3 separate regions of the Homo sapiens genome follow, and all the other regions are linked to region 3. Evidence: promoter capture Hi-C in human tissues and cell types (Jung and others, 2019). All regions are on one chromosome and are shown on one strand. Each heading gives the region's core, a stretch centred on a gene start or on the middle of the fragment in contact. The rest is flanking DNA. Distances are from core to core; before and after follow the strand shown.

Region 1 (4,176 bases), core at 869-3,368, 33 kb before region 3:
TCACCGTGTTAGCCAGGATGGTCTCGATCTCCTGACCTTGTGATCCAGCCACCTTGGCCTCCCAAAGTGCTGGGATTACAGGCGTGAGCCACCGCGCCCGGCCCCAATCCCATATGTTTTTTACCCATTTAAGGTATTTACTTTTATTTATTCTTGTACATGGCAATTCTGAGATTGCTATCCTTCGACAGGCCTGCCTGCAAGGTTAGCCCTTGGCTAGCATTTGGGAACTTAGATTTGGGGAGGGTCCTCACCATTCCCAGAACTGATAAAGAGTAGTTTGCCCCGCCTGTAATCCCAGCACTTTGGGAGGCCGAGGCAGGCGGATCACAAGGTCAGGATATCGAGACCATCCTGGCTAACGCGGTGAAACCCCGTCTCTACTAAAAATACAAAAAATTAGCCGGGAGTAGTGGCGGGCGCCTGTAGTACCAGCTACCCGGGAGGCTGAGGCAGGAGAATGGCGTGAACTGGAGAGGCGGAGCTTGCAGTGAGCCGAGATTGCGCCAGGGCACTCCAGCCTGGGCGACAGAGCGAGACTCCCCCAGAAAAGAGTAGTTTGCTGTGCCTGAACCATTTGTACAGGCAATATGTTTTACGCTGCACATGTGCTTTCCTTCTGGGAGTCTGGAATTTTGAAACATACTAGGCAGAGGGTGCCTCTACGGCCAGCCCTCAATAAAAACCCTGGGCACTGAGCCTGAGTTTCCCTGGTAGGGCACCATTTCACGAGCTGTGAATGAAGTGCACGGTTTGTGACTTCACTGGGCGAGAGCTCGTGAGCTTGCGCCTGGGTTCCTGTAAACTTCGTCCCATCCACTATTTCCCTTTGCTGATGTTGCTTTGTATCTTTTCAATGCAATAAACCTTAGTTATATGTAAATAATATGCTGAATCCCATGAACCTTTCTAGCAAATCACTGAACCCGGGGGTAGTCTTGGGGATCTTGACACAGTCCTCAATTAACCTCTTTCAAGGAAAAAAAAAAAAAGGAAGTAAACAAACATCTATTAAGCACCTAGTGTGAGCCAGTCACTAAGCTGGTGTATATGTTTCTCATTTAATCTTCAGAATAAATCTTCAAAGTAGATATTGCTATCCCATTACTATGACTCATTTATAAATGAGAAAACTGAAGGTCAGAAAAATTCAGTACCCTGCCCAAGGTCACAAAGCCAGGTAGAGAGTCAAGATTTAAACCCAGATAGTTGTTCTATCTGTTGTCACTGTCAAATTATAACGATTGCTTCCTTGGCCTTGTAGTTTTGGTGATAAAAGTCCATGTTCTTCCTCTCTGGATCTTTATGAGATCAAAGTGTATGCCCTCTGCCTTTCTTTTCATACAGGTTCTCATCCTGTGTCTTTCAAATGAGCAGTGATAAATTGATGATTCCTTTCCTCAAACTTAGAAAATAAAGCATCTTGAATACTATAGTATTATACTTTGTGCAAGATGCCAACAGATGCATTGAAATCTAGTTTTCAATTTTTTTTTTTTTGCTGAGGCTAATTAGAGATTTAATTTCTAATGTTATCTCTGTTTCCTTTTCAGCAAAACTCACCTAAGCACTGATCTTATAGGAAGTAATGCTGCCCCATAAGATTGAGGAGGTTTATGTGTTATGTAAATACATCTAGGCTTAATTAAAAAAAAGAGAAGATGCTAACTTATTAAAAACTCCAGCAGACTCATCCAGCAAGGCCTAGCCTTACAGATGATTATATAAGGGAATTGTGAAGGCTCAATCCTAAAACTTACTATACAAACCCACATTTTTCTGCAGTCCCACCTACTTGGGAGGCTGAGGTGGGAGATCACTCCAGCCCAGGAGGAGTCCCACATTACAGTGAGCTATGATCCCACAACTGCATCCCAGTCTGTGCAATGTGAGCAAGGCTCCAACTCAAAACAAAGCAAAAAAAAAAACTACTTTTTTTCTATATAACACAAAGATATGTTTCTGAACTTTATGGTAATGAGATATTGTGTGTATGATACTTTAAAAAGTGCTGTTAACTAATAAGTACGTAAAAAAAATAGATACACTACCAAGGTTTCAGGAAATGCAGTTTATATCTTTAAATTAAGGCTAAATTTCTAAAAGCTAAGACTATAATAAAATAAAGTTTTATTAATATTTATATTTTATAAAATTATATAATTGAGTTTAACCTTAATGAAAATTTGAGAATTTTCCAGTTCTAAAAACAGAAAAGACCACCATTTGACACTATGAGTCACTTCTATGAGATATCTTGATATGTAGTTCCTAAAGACTATTTTAGGTATATAATATTCAGGTATTCACTGTTTCAAAAAAGGCCAGAGAAAAGCTTAAAGAAGAACAAAGTTGTTACATATAGCATCCAAAAAATAGTAGTAGGCTTAAAGACAGTTTACTAATTGCCTATGATGTGTTTGATAGATACTAAGGGGCTACCAAAAAAATGAAAAAGACAGTATCAAATATAGACTACTGCCTTCTATAATCAATGATCAATTTTTTTTTTTTTTTGAGATGGAGTCTCACTCTGTTGCCCAGTCTGGAGTGCAGTGGCATGATCTCGGCTCACTGCAAGCTCTGCCTCCTGGGTTCACGCCATTCTCCTGCCTCAGCCTCCTGAGCAGCTGGGACTATAGGCACCTGCCACCACTCCCAGCTAATTTTTTTTGTATTTTTAGTAGAGACGGGGTTTCACCATGTTAGCCAGGATGGTCCCGATCTCCTGACCTTGGGATCTGCCCGCCTTGGCTTCCCAAAGTGCTGGGATTACAGGCGTGAGCCACCGTGCCCGGCCAATCAATGATCAATGTTAAATCCTCTGATTTAAATAGCTATTCAATCTGAGCTTATTCAAAATTATGGCTAGCATACCTCTTCAGGAAAATCAATCTTGTTCTAATCATAATTATAAAAATATAATTATAAACATAGCTACCACATACATACACCATGCATCAGTTACATAAATTTAATAGTCCTCACAACAACCCTCAGAGCAAGTATATTAATCGTCCACATTTTTCAGATGAGGCAACTTAAAGGTCAAAGAGGTTAGGTGACTTCTATAAGGTTACAAGTGAGTAAGTGGTGGAGACACCCTTTGACAGCCATGTTGCCTCCTCTCCAGAGCATGGAATACCAGGAAGAAAACAGGTGTTGCTTTATTTTATCATAGGGGTCTTTTCAATAGCTCTGGCCTCTTTCCTGTGACTCAAACACTGTTTACCACAATGCATCAGAGTATCTTCTGACTCTGCGCTGGTTCTGGGGGCATGTCACAGTGGAAAAGAAAGTACAATGTTCAGAAGCAAGAGTAACTGTGAAGTGAAGATATGAAAGCAATGAAGAATAAGGCAGCCCAGCAAGGGCAGAAAGAAACAACCTGCAAAACCTGTCAAAGCAGGAAGCTACTCTCCACCTGTCTCCATGGGTGCCTTTGTACCTCAGCCCACCACACCTGAAGCAACTGTCCCTGTTAAGAAAGGAATGCCATACACAGATTGAAACTAATACATACTTTAATATATAGTATTTCCTTTGGGTGTCAGAATTGAATGCTTGGGTTTTTACCATAAAACAATCCTAAGCCTAACATGTGATAGATGTTTAAAAGGTGAGGCGTGTCTAACAGTATTATTAGATTTCCCCACCATTATTTGTCTTTGTGGCTTTCCATATTAAGAAGTATCTTAGGCTGGGTGCGGTAGCTCACGCCTGTAATACCAGCACTTTCAAAGGCCGAGGCCAGCAAACTGCCTCAGCTAAGGAGTTTGAGACCAGCCCAGGCAACATGGCGAAACCCCGTCTCTACTAAAAATACAAAAAGTTAGCCAAGTGTGATGGTGCATGCCTGTAGTCCCAGCTACTTAGGAGGCTGAGGCACGATAATCGCTTGAACCCGGAAGATGGAGGTTGAAGTGAGCTGAGATCGTGCCACTTCACTCCAGCCTGGGAGACAGAGTGGGACTCTGTCTCAAAAAAAAAAAAAAAAAAAAAAAAAAAAAAAAAAAAAAGAAAGAAAAAGAAATATCTGATTCCATATCATGACAAAGCTCTTATAATATCTCATTTTAAAAATGACTACATTAAAGAATCCTTTTAAAGGGTTTTCAAAGTCTAGATGGTATTAAAGATATAATATTAACTTCAGAACCTAGTCAGAGCCATCAT
Region 2 (4,018 bases), core at 134-2,633, 46 kb after region 3:
GGATACCAAGAAACCAAGAATGTTCATAGCTGTATGGTCTGCAGTAGCAAAAACCTAGAAATGACCACATGCCCATTGTGAGGAGCCTGAGTACATTATGGTATATTCACATGATGAAATATAACACAGCAATGGAAAAGTGTGAACCACGGCTACTCACAACTTGATATATCCCAGTAACATGACATTTAATAAAACAAGTCTCAAAATCATACCATTTGATACCATTGTTATAGTGGCATTAGCATTGTAGCAGCAAAGCCAAACAATACGGAAGAATTCATATTACAATGTTATTTCACTTTTATAAATCATAGGGATAATGTATGCAAAACTGGTGGTGGTGTCTTTGGGGGTTATTCAGGGCAATAGGATGGGGCCAGCACACAAGTGGGGCCACTGGTATTAGTAATGTTCTGGCCTTCAGATGGGGGCTGGTTCCCAGCATGTGCCTTTTACATTTTATTAGGGATGGGGTCCACACACCCTTCTGATGTGAAATGTCATGATAATGATGAAGGAAAACTAAATAAGAAATAGCCTCTGTATATAAAGAGTAATCAGAGTTAATATAGGAAGGGAACTTCCTAGATAAAATGCTAGGAGTAAATTTCATGGGCAGTGTGCAAGAGCATTGTGAAGACATTGAGAGTCTGCCGAGAGCCACAAAGGAAACTTGAACAAAAAGTCACAATTTGTTCTTAGAAAAATTTATTCTCGATGGATTGATAGGTGCAGCAAACCACATGGGACATGTTTACCTACGTAACAAACCTGCACGTCCTGCACGTATATTCCAGAATTTAAAAGAACAATTTATTCTTATAAAGATGTCAATTCTCCCTGACTTCATAGGCTTAACATTTTATAACAATTTTAGAGTTTTTTCCCCAATCTGGACAAGCTGAGAACTCTCAGCAAATCTTAAACGATTTGAGGAGGAGGACATTTTTTAACGAAAAGAATACAAAATTAAGAAAACGAAATTAGGTAGAAAAGCTAACATTAACTAAAAACAAGAAAATAAATTACAAATATTTAAAAGCTGACAAATATAAAACATTACCAACTTAAATTCAGAAAAATATTTTTATTAATCGACTGCTTGATACACCTGTTATATTTTTCATTTTACTAACTGAATTATCAAATCTACAAGCTTATTTGCTACTTCTATTTGAAGTTTGTGTCTTTAATTACTGCTTTTCATTAGATCTGAAATTTTTTTATAATTTGCTTTTTTTTTTTTTTTTTTGAAATGGAGTCTTGTTCTGTCACCCAGGCTAGAGTGCAATGGCATGATCTCAGCTCACTGCAACATCTGCCTCCCGGGTTCCAGCAATTCTCCTGCCTCAGCCTCCTGAGTAGCTGGGATTACAAGCGTGTGCCACCACACCGGGCTAATTTTTGTATTTTTAATAGAGATGGGGTTTCACCATATTGGCCAGGCTGGTCTCGAACTTCTGACCTCGTGATCTGCCCACTGCGGCTTCCCAAAGTGCTAGGATTACAGGCGTGAGCCACTGTGCCCAGACTATAATTTGCTGCTTGATGTCAGAATAATTTCTATTAATTTCATTGTTCATCTTTAATCACCATTGTTTCATAGTCCAGTAATTTTCTGTATTTTCTGTTAAACTCTTCATATGTCTAAATCAGGAATCAGACATTTTTCATTTTTTTTTCTAAACTAGCCTAAAATTGTTTTTCTAAATTGCAGTTAAAATGGCATATTTGACCTTTGGTAACTTTTAAAATATTGACATATAATTAATATACCACAAAACTCACCCTTTAAAAATATGCATGATTCGGTGGCTTTTTATTATATTCACAAAGTTGTACAATAATCACCATTATCTATCTTCAACATTTTCATCACCCCCAGGAGAAATCTCATAACCATTAGAAACCATTCTCCCTTTTCCTCTTCTTCCAGCCCTTTGCAACCACTAATCTACTTTGTCTGATTTGCCTATTCTGGACATTTTGTATACATAGAATTATACAATATGTGACCGTTTGTGCAATGTTTATTAAATTTTGAATGAACTCTCTATTCATGCTCAGGTGTTCCTTCTGAGTCAGAAAATATATTTTAGAGTCTTTAAGATGTTGTGTACTTTGTGCTACAAGATCTCAATGCTTTATAATGGGCAAACCACCTCACTATCCTTAGACCCTTGAATACTAAGTTGGCATGGGTGATTAAAATACTACATGTAATGTAAAAGATAAATTCAAGAAGAACGTGTAACTTGGAAAATCTGAAGTAGTCAGCAACTTTAGGGACTGGGAAGGCAGCTTTCCCAGGGATAACTAAGTGATAAAGCGAACTGCGTCCAGAATATATTTTAAGTACTTACTAATGTGAAAGCATTGTGGAATCTTCACGTCTTCTAAAAGTCACGTTTTTACGTGACTGATTGCAAATGCAACATAAGGTTAAAGTTGCTCAGAACTTATTTCATTCTGTTGAAAAGACAAAACTGCGTTTGAATTATTCTTGTGTATACTTTAATTTCAGATGAATTTTGACAGTTAAAAGTTGGTTTGCTGTAGAACATGATTTTTCTGTTTTAGAGTAGCACACGATAATGGCATACATAAAGCAATTTGCTACTGGAGAATTTGTAGCAATATTTGATGTTTGGTTTATTTACTTATTTGAGTTCCCACTTTATTTTGTACATATTTTCCCTTATTTTGATTAATTCTCCATGAGCTATTTTGGATAAATAAAAGTCATATTTGTCCTTCTACCTTTATAGTTTTCCAGGCACTCATGTAAAAATTGATCAAATCTAGAAATCAATTGGGTGATTCCTAGAAATTTCTGTTACTTGAAGAACACAACTTTTTCATTGTGATCTCTGATGAATAAACCTTTTTCACTTAACAATTCAATACCTTCCTGTTGGGAGCAGGCCCCCCAAAATCTGGCGATAAACCAGCCCCAAAACTGGCCATAAACAATCTCTGCAGCACTGTAACATGTTCATAATGGCCCTAACGCCCAAGCTGGAAGGTTGTGGGTTTACAGGAATGAGGGCAAGGAACACCTGGCCTGCCCAGGGTGGAAAACCGCTTAAAGGCATTCTTAAGCTACAAACAATAGCATGAGCGATCTGTGCCTTAAGGACATGCTCCTGCTGCAGTTAACTAGCCTAACCTATTCCTTTAATTCGGCCCATCCCTTCCTTTCCCATAAGGGATACTTTCAGTTAATTTAACATCTATAGAAACAATGCTAATGACTGGTTTGCTGTCAGTAAATACGTGGGTAAATCTCTGTTGGGGGCTGTCAGTTCTGAAGGCTGCGAGACCCCTGATTTCCCACTTCACACCTCTGTATTTCTGTGTGTGTGTCTTTAATTCCTCTAGTGCTGCTAGGTTAGGGTCTCCCCAACCGAGCTTGTCTCCACACCTTCCACTGTTCTTCTTAGTACTTCAGCATAATACTGTATGTTCCTTCTTTGTCCTGCAAGACAACGGTAAAGTGCATTATAATTAATTTATGTGTAATCCAAGTAAACAAGCCTCATTGTGTTGTATGTGTCTTATGATTAAGAGCTCAATACATTTAATCTAGTCTGACAGTTTGCCTGGTGTAAGTCATGTGTGTCTTGTTAAAAAAAATTTAATAAGAACAAAACAACTGGGGGGAGGAGCCAAGATGGCCGAATAGGAACAGCTCCGGTCTACAGCTCCCAGTGTGAGCGACGCAGAAGACGGGTGATTTCTGCATTTCCATCTGAGGTACCGGGTTTGTCTCACTAGGGAGTGCCAGACAGTGGGCGCAGGCCAGTGGGTGCGCGCACCGTGCGCAAGCCGAAGCAGGGCGAGGCATTGCCTCACTTGGGAAGCGCAAGGGGTCAGGGAGTTCCCTTTCCGAGTCAAAGAAAGGGGTGACAGACGCACCTGGAAAATCGGGTCACTCCCACCCGAATATTGTGCTTTTCAGACCGGCTTAAAAAACGGCGAACCACGAGATTATATCCCACACCTGGCTGGGAGG
Region 3 (4,569 bases), core at 900-3,399:
ACGCCTGACTTCCACTCCTAACCAGTCTTCTTTCACAGGTACCCTGTCCCCTAAAATCAAATGTTGCTTTTCACAGTTGCCTTTACTTGTCACCTAAAGTATTTCAATTCAAAATTTCCTCAAAGTCAACTTAACAGCTGCTGATAAAATAATCATTCTATATGATTACAAAGTGTTTCACCAATACATATCCCCATTTTTTCCAAACTTAAAACTTCTTCAGTCCTTATTACTTTAGCATAGAGACCTGCACTGTTGTTTCTTCTTTTTAAAAAAATACTAATGCTAATCCTTTACTGTTTGAGCAGACTTAATCCTACCTTTTCTTTTGTCAATAAATGCCAGGTGTTTTTTAAATCACTATCTTGTCACTTTTGATTATGATATACTGATCACTCTATTTGTATCTTGAATGAAAAGACCGCTTTGTGATTTTGCTAATGATATGTAAACTAGAACTTGAGAACCACTGGATACAGGAGTACTGCTGATCTTTATACTTTCTGTCTAAAAATGAAGCCCCTGTCTCTAAATTTCAGGAACAGGGAGTTAAGGTTCCATGAAGTGTTTACTTTCCACCCTTAATTTATTACCTTAATACTTCAGCTTAAGAATTATGTGTTCTGTATATATCACGCTGCTTGTCAATATCCACACATAAACCTTCTTGTTTTGACAATTAATCTGAAAAAGTCCCCATATAGTCTGAGAGGGGGAAAACCTAATTTGGAAGAATATAATAAATGTCAGTTTCCATCACAGAATATATGCTTCTCAAGTTCAATTAACCTCTCAATGATTCCCTAAGAGGAAAGTAATTCTCCTTAGTGTCCTTGTCATCCATGGAGTGGAAATCTTTCTACTGGCAAGATTAGTAATCACTTCCATGACCCCCAAAACGGCTCTTCCTTCCATTTCCCTCAAGTACTGTCTGGAGCAGCGGTTGGAATTAATAGAGGGGCCATAATCTCCAGACCTGAATACCAAATCAATCCTGCAGCCCCCCACACCCTTAATGCCCCTGCACTTTCTTGCTTATCCTTTTTCTCTCGTCTCCATTTTTCTTTCCTCCTTCTGGTGTTCCGGAACCTATGATACTCTCCTGGTTGTTTGAATTTTTACAACCTACCAGATAATAATCTCTTGTGATCCTCAAAGCTTCCTTAAAGCAAACCCTGAATCACTGTGTTTTAAAACCAGTATGAAAGACTATTGTGTGGGATAATGTTACATTGTTTCACAGCCCTACAAAGTTTGGCCACAAAACGTGTGGGCAGATTCCGTAACTCAACCGGAAACGCGAAGGACTGAAACAAATCAACACACAAAAAACGAAGCCAGCGAGAAAGATCCAACCCGGGCCCCCTGCCTGAAATGGGACACGGGGATGACGGGGCAAAGCCGGGCAAAACCGTGCTCCTGGCTCTCGCGATTCAGGAGACGCGCCAGGCTCACTGGGGACGACAGCGACGACGGCGGCGGCTCGCATTGCTCCACGCTTCCCGTCAGGGGGGCTCGAGGGACCGCCCCAGGCCCGGCCCATGCCCGGGCTCGGAGGGAGCCCCTGGTGCGAGGGCTGCCCGCAGGGCTCCGTCCTCCCGCTGAGGCGCGGCTCCCGGAGCAGGAGGCGCGGAGGCCGCCCTCGGCGTTTCGGAGTCGGGGCGGGGAACGTCCACGGCCAACTGCGGGCAGGGGACCCCCAGGCGGCTACAACAGGTGCGCCGGGGCCGCCCACCCGGCTCGGGGCGCGCCCGCCCCTGCGCCGACCCCCGACCCCTTCCGCCGCCGGGGCCCCGCTGTTACCTGCAGCGGCGGCTCCCGATTCCCGGGAGGGCGGCCCAGGGCCGGCGCCTTACCCGCGGGCAGGCCCACTCGCCCGACGGACGCCGCGGGTCGGCGACAGCGGGGACCGCGGGTCGGCGACGTCGGGGCACAGGTCCTGCGGGGCCGCGGGGGCCGCCAGGGAGGGCGCGACCGCCTGACCGGGCTTCAGGAGCAGTGTCCTCAGCCGGTGACCTGGCCGCTACCCTCGCTCAGTGTCCCCGGCGACGCGCGGGTCCTCACGCGCTCCCTCACTTCCTGCGGCTTTTGGTCCCTCCCGCTCGCCGTCCCTTTAGTTCTGCCCACTTCGCCTCCGGGTTGTCAGGGCAACCGTAGCGACGCCGGCCCTGGCTGAGAGGCGTTAGGAGTCCGGGGGTTCGCCCGCGGAGGCCGGGGAGCAGCCGACCATGGAGCCCCAGAGTAAGGGAGGCCCGGGCTGGAGCTGGGACCGGGGCGGGCGACCGGGCTGGGGCTCCCCGGGAACGAGTGTGGGCGCCCCGCGCGCGACTCCGCAGGTTTCAACGCTCGGACACGGAAATACGGTTTGCGTCTCCTCGCGCTTTTCTCTCCTGGAGAGGGGAGAAGGGGGCTACATCCTGCCAAGTCTGTATGGTTGGGCCGCCGGCGCCCTAGAGTCCGCGCTGGGGGCTGGGAGCGACTGGAGAGCCCCGAGGTATGGGTGGGGAAGGGCGCAGCGACCCCAGCGTGCGTCTTCCTGAAACTTCGCCCGGACGGTTCCATTTACTCCTCCTCCTACTCATGATTTTAGTTTGGTAGTTTGGTTCATTAATTGTAAGTAGCCCATTTTTCTTCTAAAATGTCAGCAATTAAACACGTCCGAGGCTGGGTCTTGTATTTATTAGAGACCCCGTCTTACTCCCCGCCCCCCGCCCCACACCCCTAGTCTGCGACTTGAAGGAGAGAGAGAGAAAAGAAGAGCTTTGTCCAAGTGTATTTGATTCATTCTTAGGGGTTCTACAAGTTAGGACACTCAAAAAATGTTTGTAATCTCTTTTTCTGTTTTCCCATGTTGCTTTCGATGTATGGCAAAAGTTGTGCAGTTTTGAGTTATCAGATCTAAACACGAGCTCTAACTTACTATTTTTGTTGTTGTTTTTACCTTTCCAGGGACTTTGTTTCAAGGCCTTTCTTTCTCTGCCCCGCCTAAGCTGTCTTATTGTTCCTTTTGTTCTCAAAATAAGGGGAGTGTTTTGTATGGAGACTTAAAATTTATCTAAAACCTTTATAGAAGGATGCAGTTTGACTCTCAAACCAAGTCGTCTTATCTTGTACAATTTCAGAAATGAAGAACTCAGACCAAATCTATTCTCTGGGGAAAATGTTGGCATTTTTAAAGGTCATTCGTTTTCCACCAAGAAAGTTTCAAATACTTTTCCTTTTAACTCATTTGCTGAGGAGAAAGCTTGCAAGTTGTGACTTATAGTTGCTTGATAGATTTTGTACAGTATTTGTCATTTGCATTTACAGCTCTTTGGATTCTACATTTTTTTAACCTAGTAAAAGAAATTTAGCATACAAGAACGCTAAAATTTTTGTTTTATGTCAAACTGATGGCAGGCTGTGTATATTCCCGCCTTAGAGAAGTGAGTTGAAATATACCTTTTAAAAACAGCAACTTGGCCTGGCCCGGTGGCTCACGCCTGTAATCCCAGCACTTTGGGAGGCTGAGGCAGGCGGATCACGAGGTCAGGAGATTGAGACCATCTTGGCCAGCATAGTGAAACCCATCTCTACTAAAATACAAAAAAAAAAAAAAAAAAAAAAAAAAAAAAAAAAAAGCCAGGTGTGGTGGCGCGTGCCTGGAGTCCTAGCTATTTGGGACGCTGAGGCCGAGGCAGGGGAATCGCTTGAACCCGGGAGGCGGAGGTTGCAGTGAGGCCAGATTGCACCGCTGCACTCCAGCCTGGTGACAGAGCGAGACTCCATCTCGAAAAAACAAAAAAAAGAACTTTATTTCTTCAGATTTATGTTACTGTTTTCATGTGTAAACTATAATTTCAAGTTCTTCAGTGCTGTCTTTATCCATTCATTCATTTATAGTGCCTGTTATGTTGCAGCTCTGTTCTAGGGATTGAGGATTGAACAACGGATCGGACAGTGTTAGTTTTGGTCATCCCAGGAAAACTAAGCAGAGGCTTGCTCAAGAACTCCTGAGGTCTTGGTGGGGTTCGGAGATTGGGGGAAGAGGAGATGGACAAAGGCTCCCAAGAGGAAGTAGTACTGGGTCTGCAGAATGACCCAGCAAAGAATGAGGGCAAGGGATTCCAGGCAGTGGGAATTACTTGTACATAGGCCCTGAGACCTGAGAGCAGCGTGGGTTTGAGGCTCACGGTAGGAAGATTAGTAAAGCTGTAGCTAAGGAGAGGAGGAGGAAAAAACAGGGTTGGAAGGAGGGAGGAGAAATGAGATAAGGCTGGAAAATTCAACCGGAGCCTGATCAGAAAGGTTCTGTAACCATGTGAGAAATGTATTACTTATGTGAACTATACATTTATATCTCATGTCATTGGATTTTGAGGTGGAAAATATTTAATTTATACCTGAGGAATGACTGTAAATTTCTTTCTTTCCACATATTCTTAAATTATTTCATCAATTTAATTTTAAATAATTCAATCACCATTTAGCTCAAGTTTTGTTGTTTTTTTTTTTTTTTGAGACAGGGTCTTGCTCTGTCACCCAGGCTGGAGTATAGTGGTGCGATCATAGCTCAGTACACCCTCGAAC

The links. Contacts are between HindIII fragments. The study calls those that stand out against the background at their distance.
Region 1: a fragment that was not itself captured here is called in contact with the fragment with the promoter of FANK1 in region 3 in 1 of the 25 tissues and cell types used here (aorta).
Region 2: a contact is called between a fragment that was not itself captured here and the fragment with the promoter of FANK1 in region 3, in 1 of the 25 tissues and cell types used here (heart right atrium).

What each region holds. Positions count from the first base shown.
Region 1 is chr10:125,860,949-125,865,124 of GRCh38, forward strand. The region is part of intron 2 of DHX32 (DEAH-box helicase 32 (putative)); the gene reads right to left. Among named protein-coding and RNA genes, the nearest start is that of DHX32, 18 kb to the right of the region's middle. The HindIII fragment of the contact is 5,901 bases long and covers 1-4,176 here.
Region 2 is chr10:125,941,577-125,945,594 of GRCh38, forward strand. All of the region lies in intron 1 of FANK1 (fibronectin type III and ankyrin repeat domains 1), which reads left to right. Among named protein-coding and RNA genes, the nearest start is that of FANK1-AS1, 30 kb to the right of the region's middle. The HindIII fragment of the contact is 3,831 bases long and covers 1-3,299 here.
Region 3 is chr10:125,894,415-125,898,983 of GRCh38, forward strand. It overlaps FANK1 (fibronectin type III and ankyrin repeat domains 1), which reads left to right and starts at 2,150. Exons shown (of 11, transcript NM_145235.5): 1 at 2,150-2,241. The coding sequence starts at 2,229. It also overlaps a transcript of DHX32 not described here. RefSeq lists silencers at 1,655-1,734, 1,955-2,034, 2,195-2,334, 2,426-2,720. The HindIII fragment of the contact is 9,835 bases long and covers 1-4,569 here.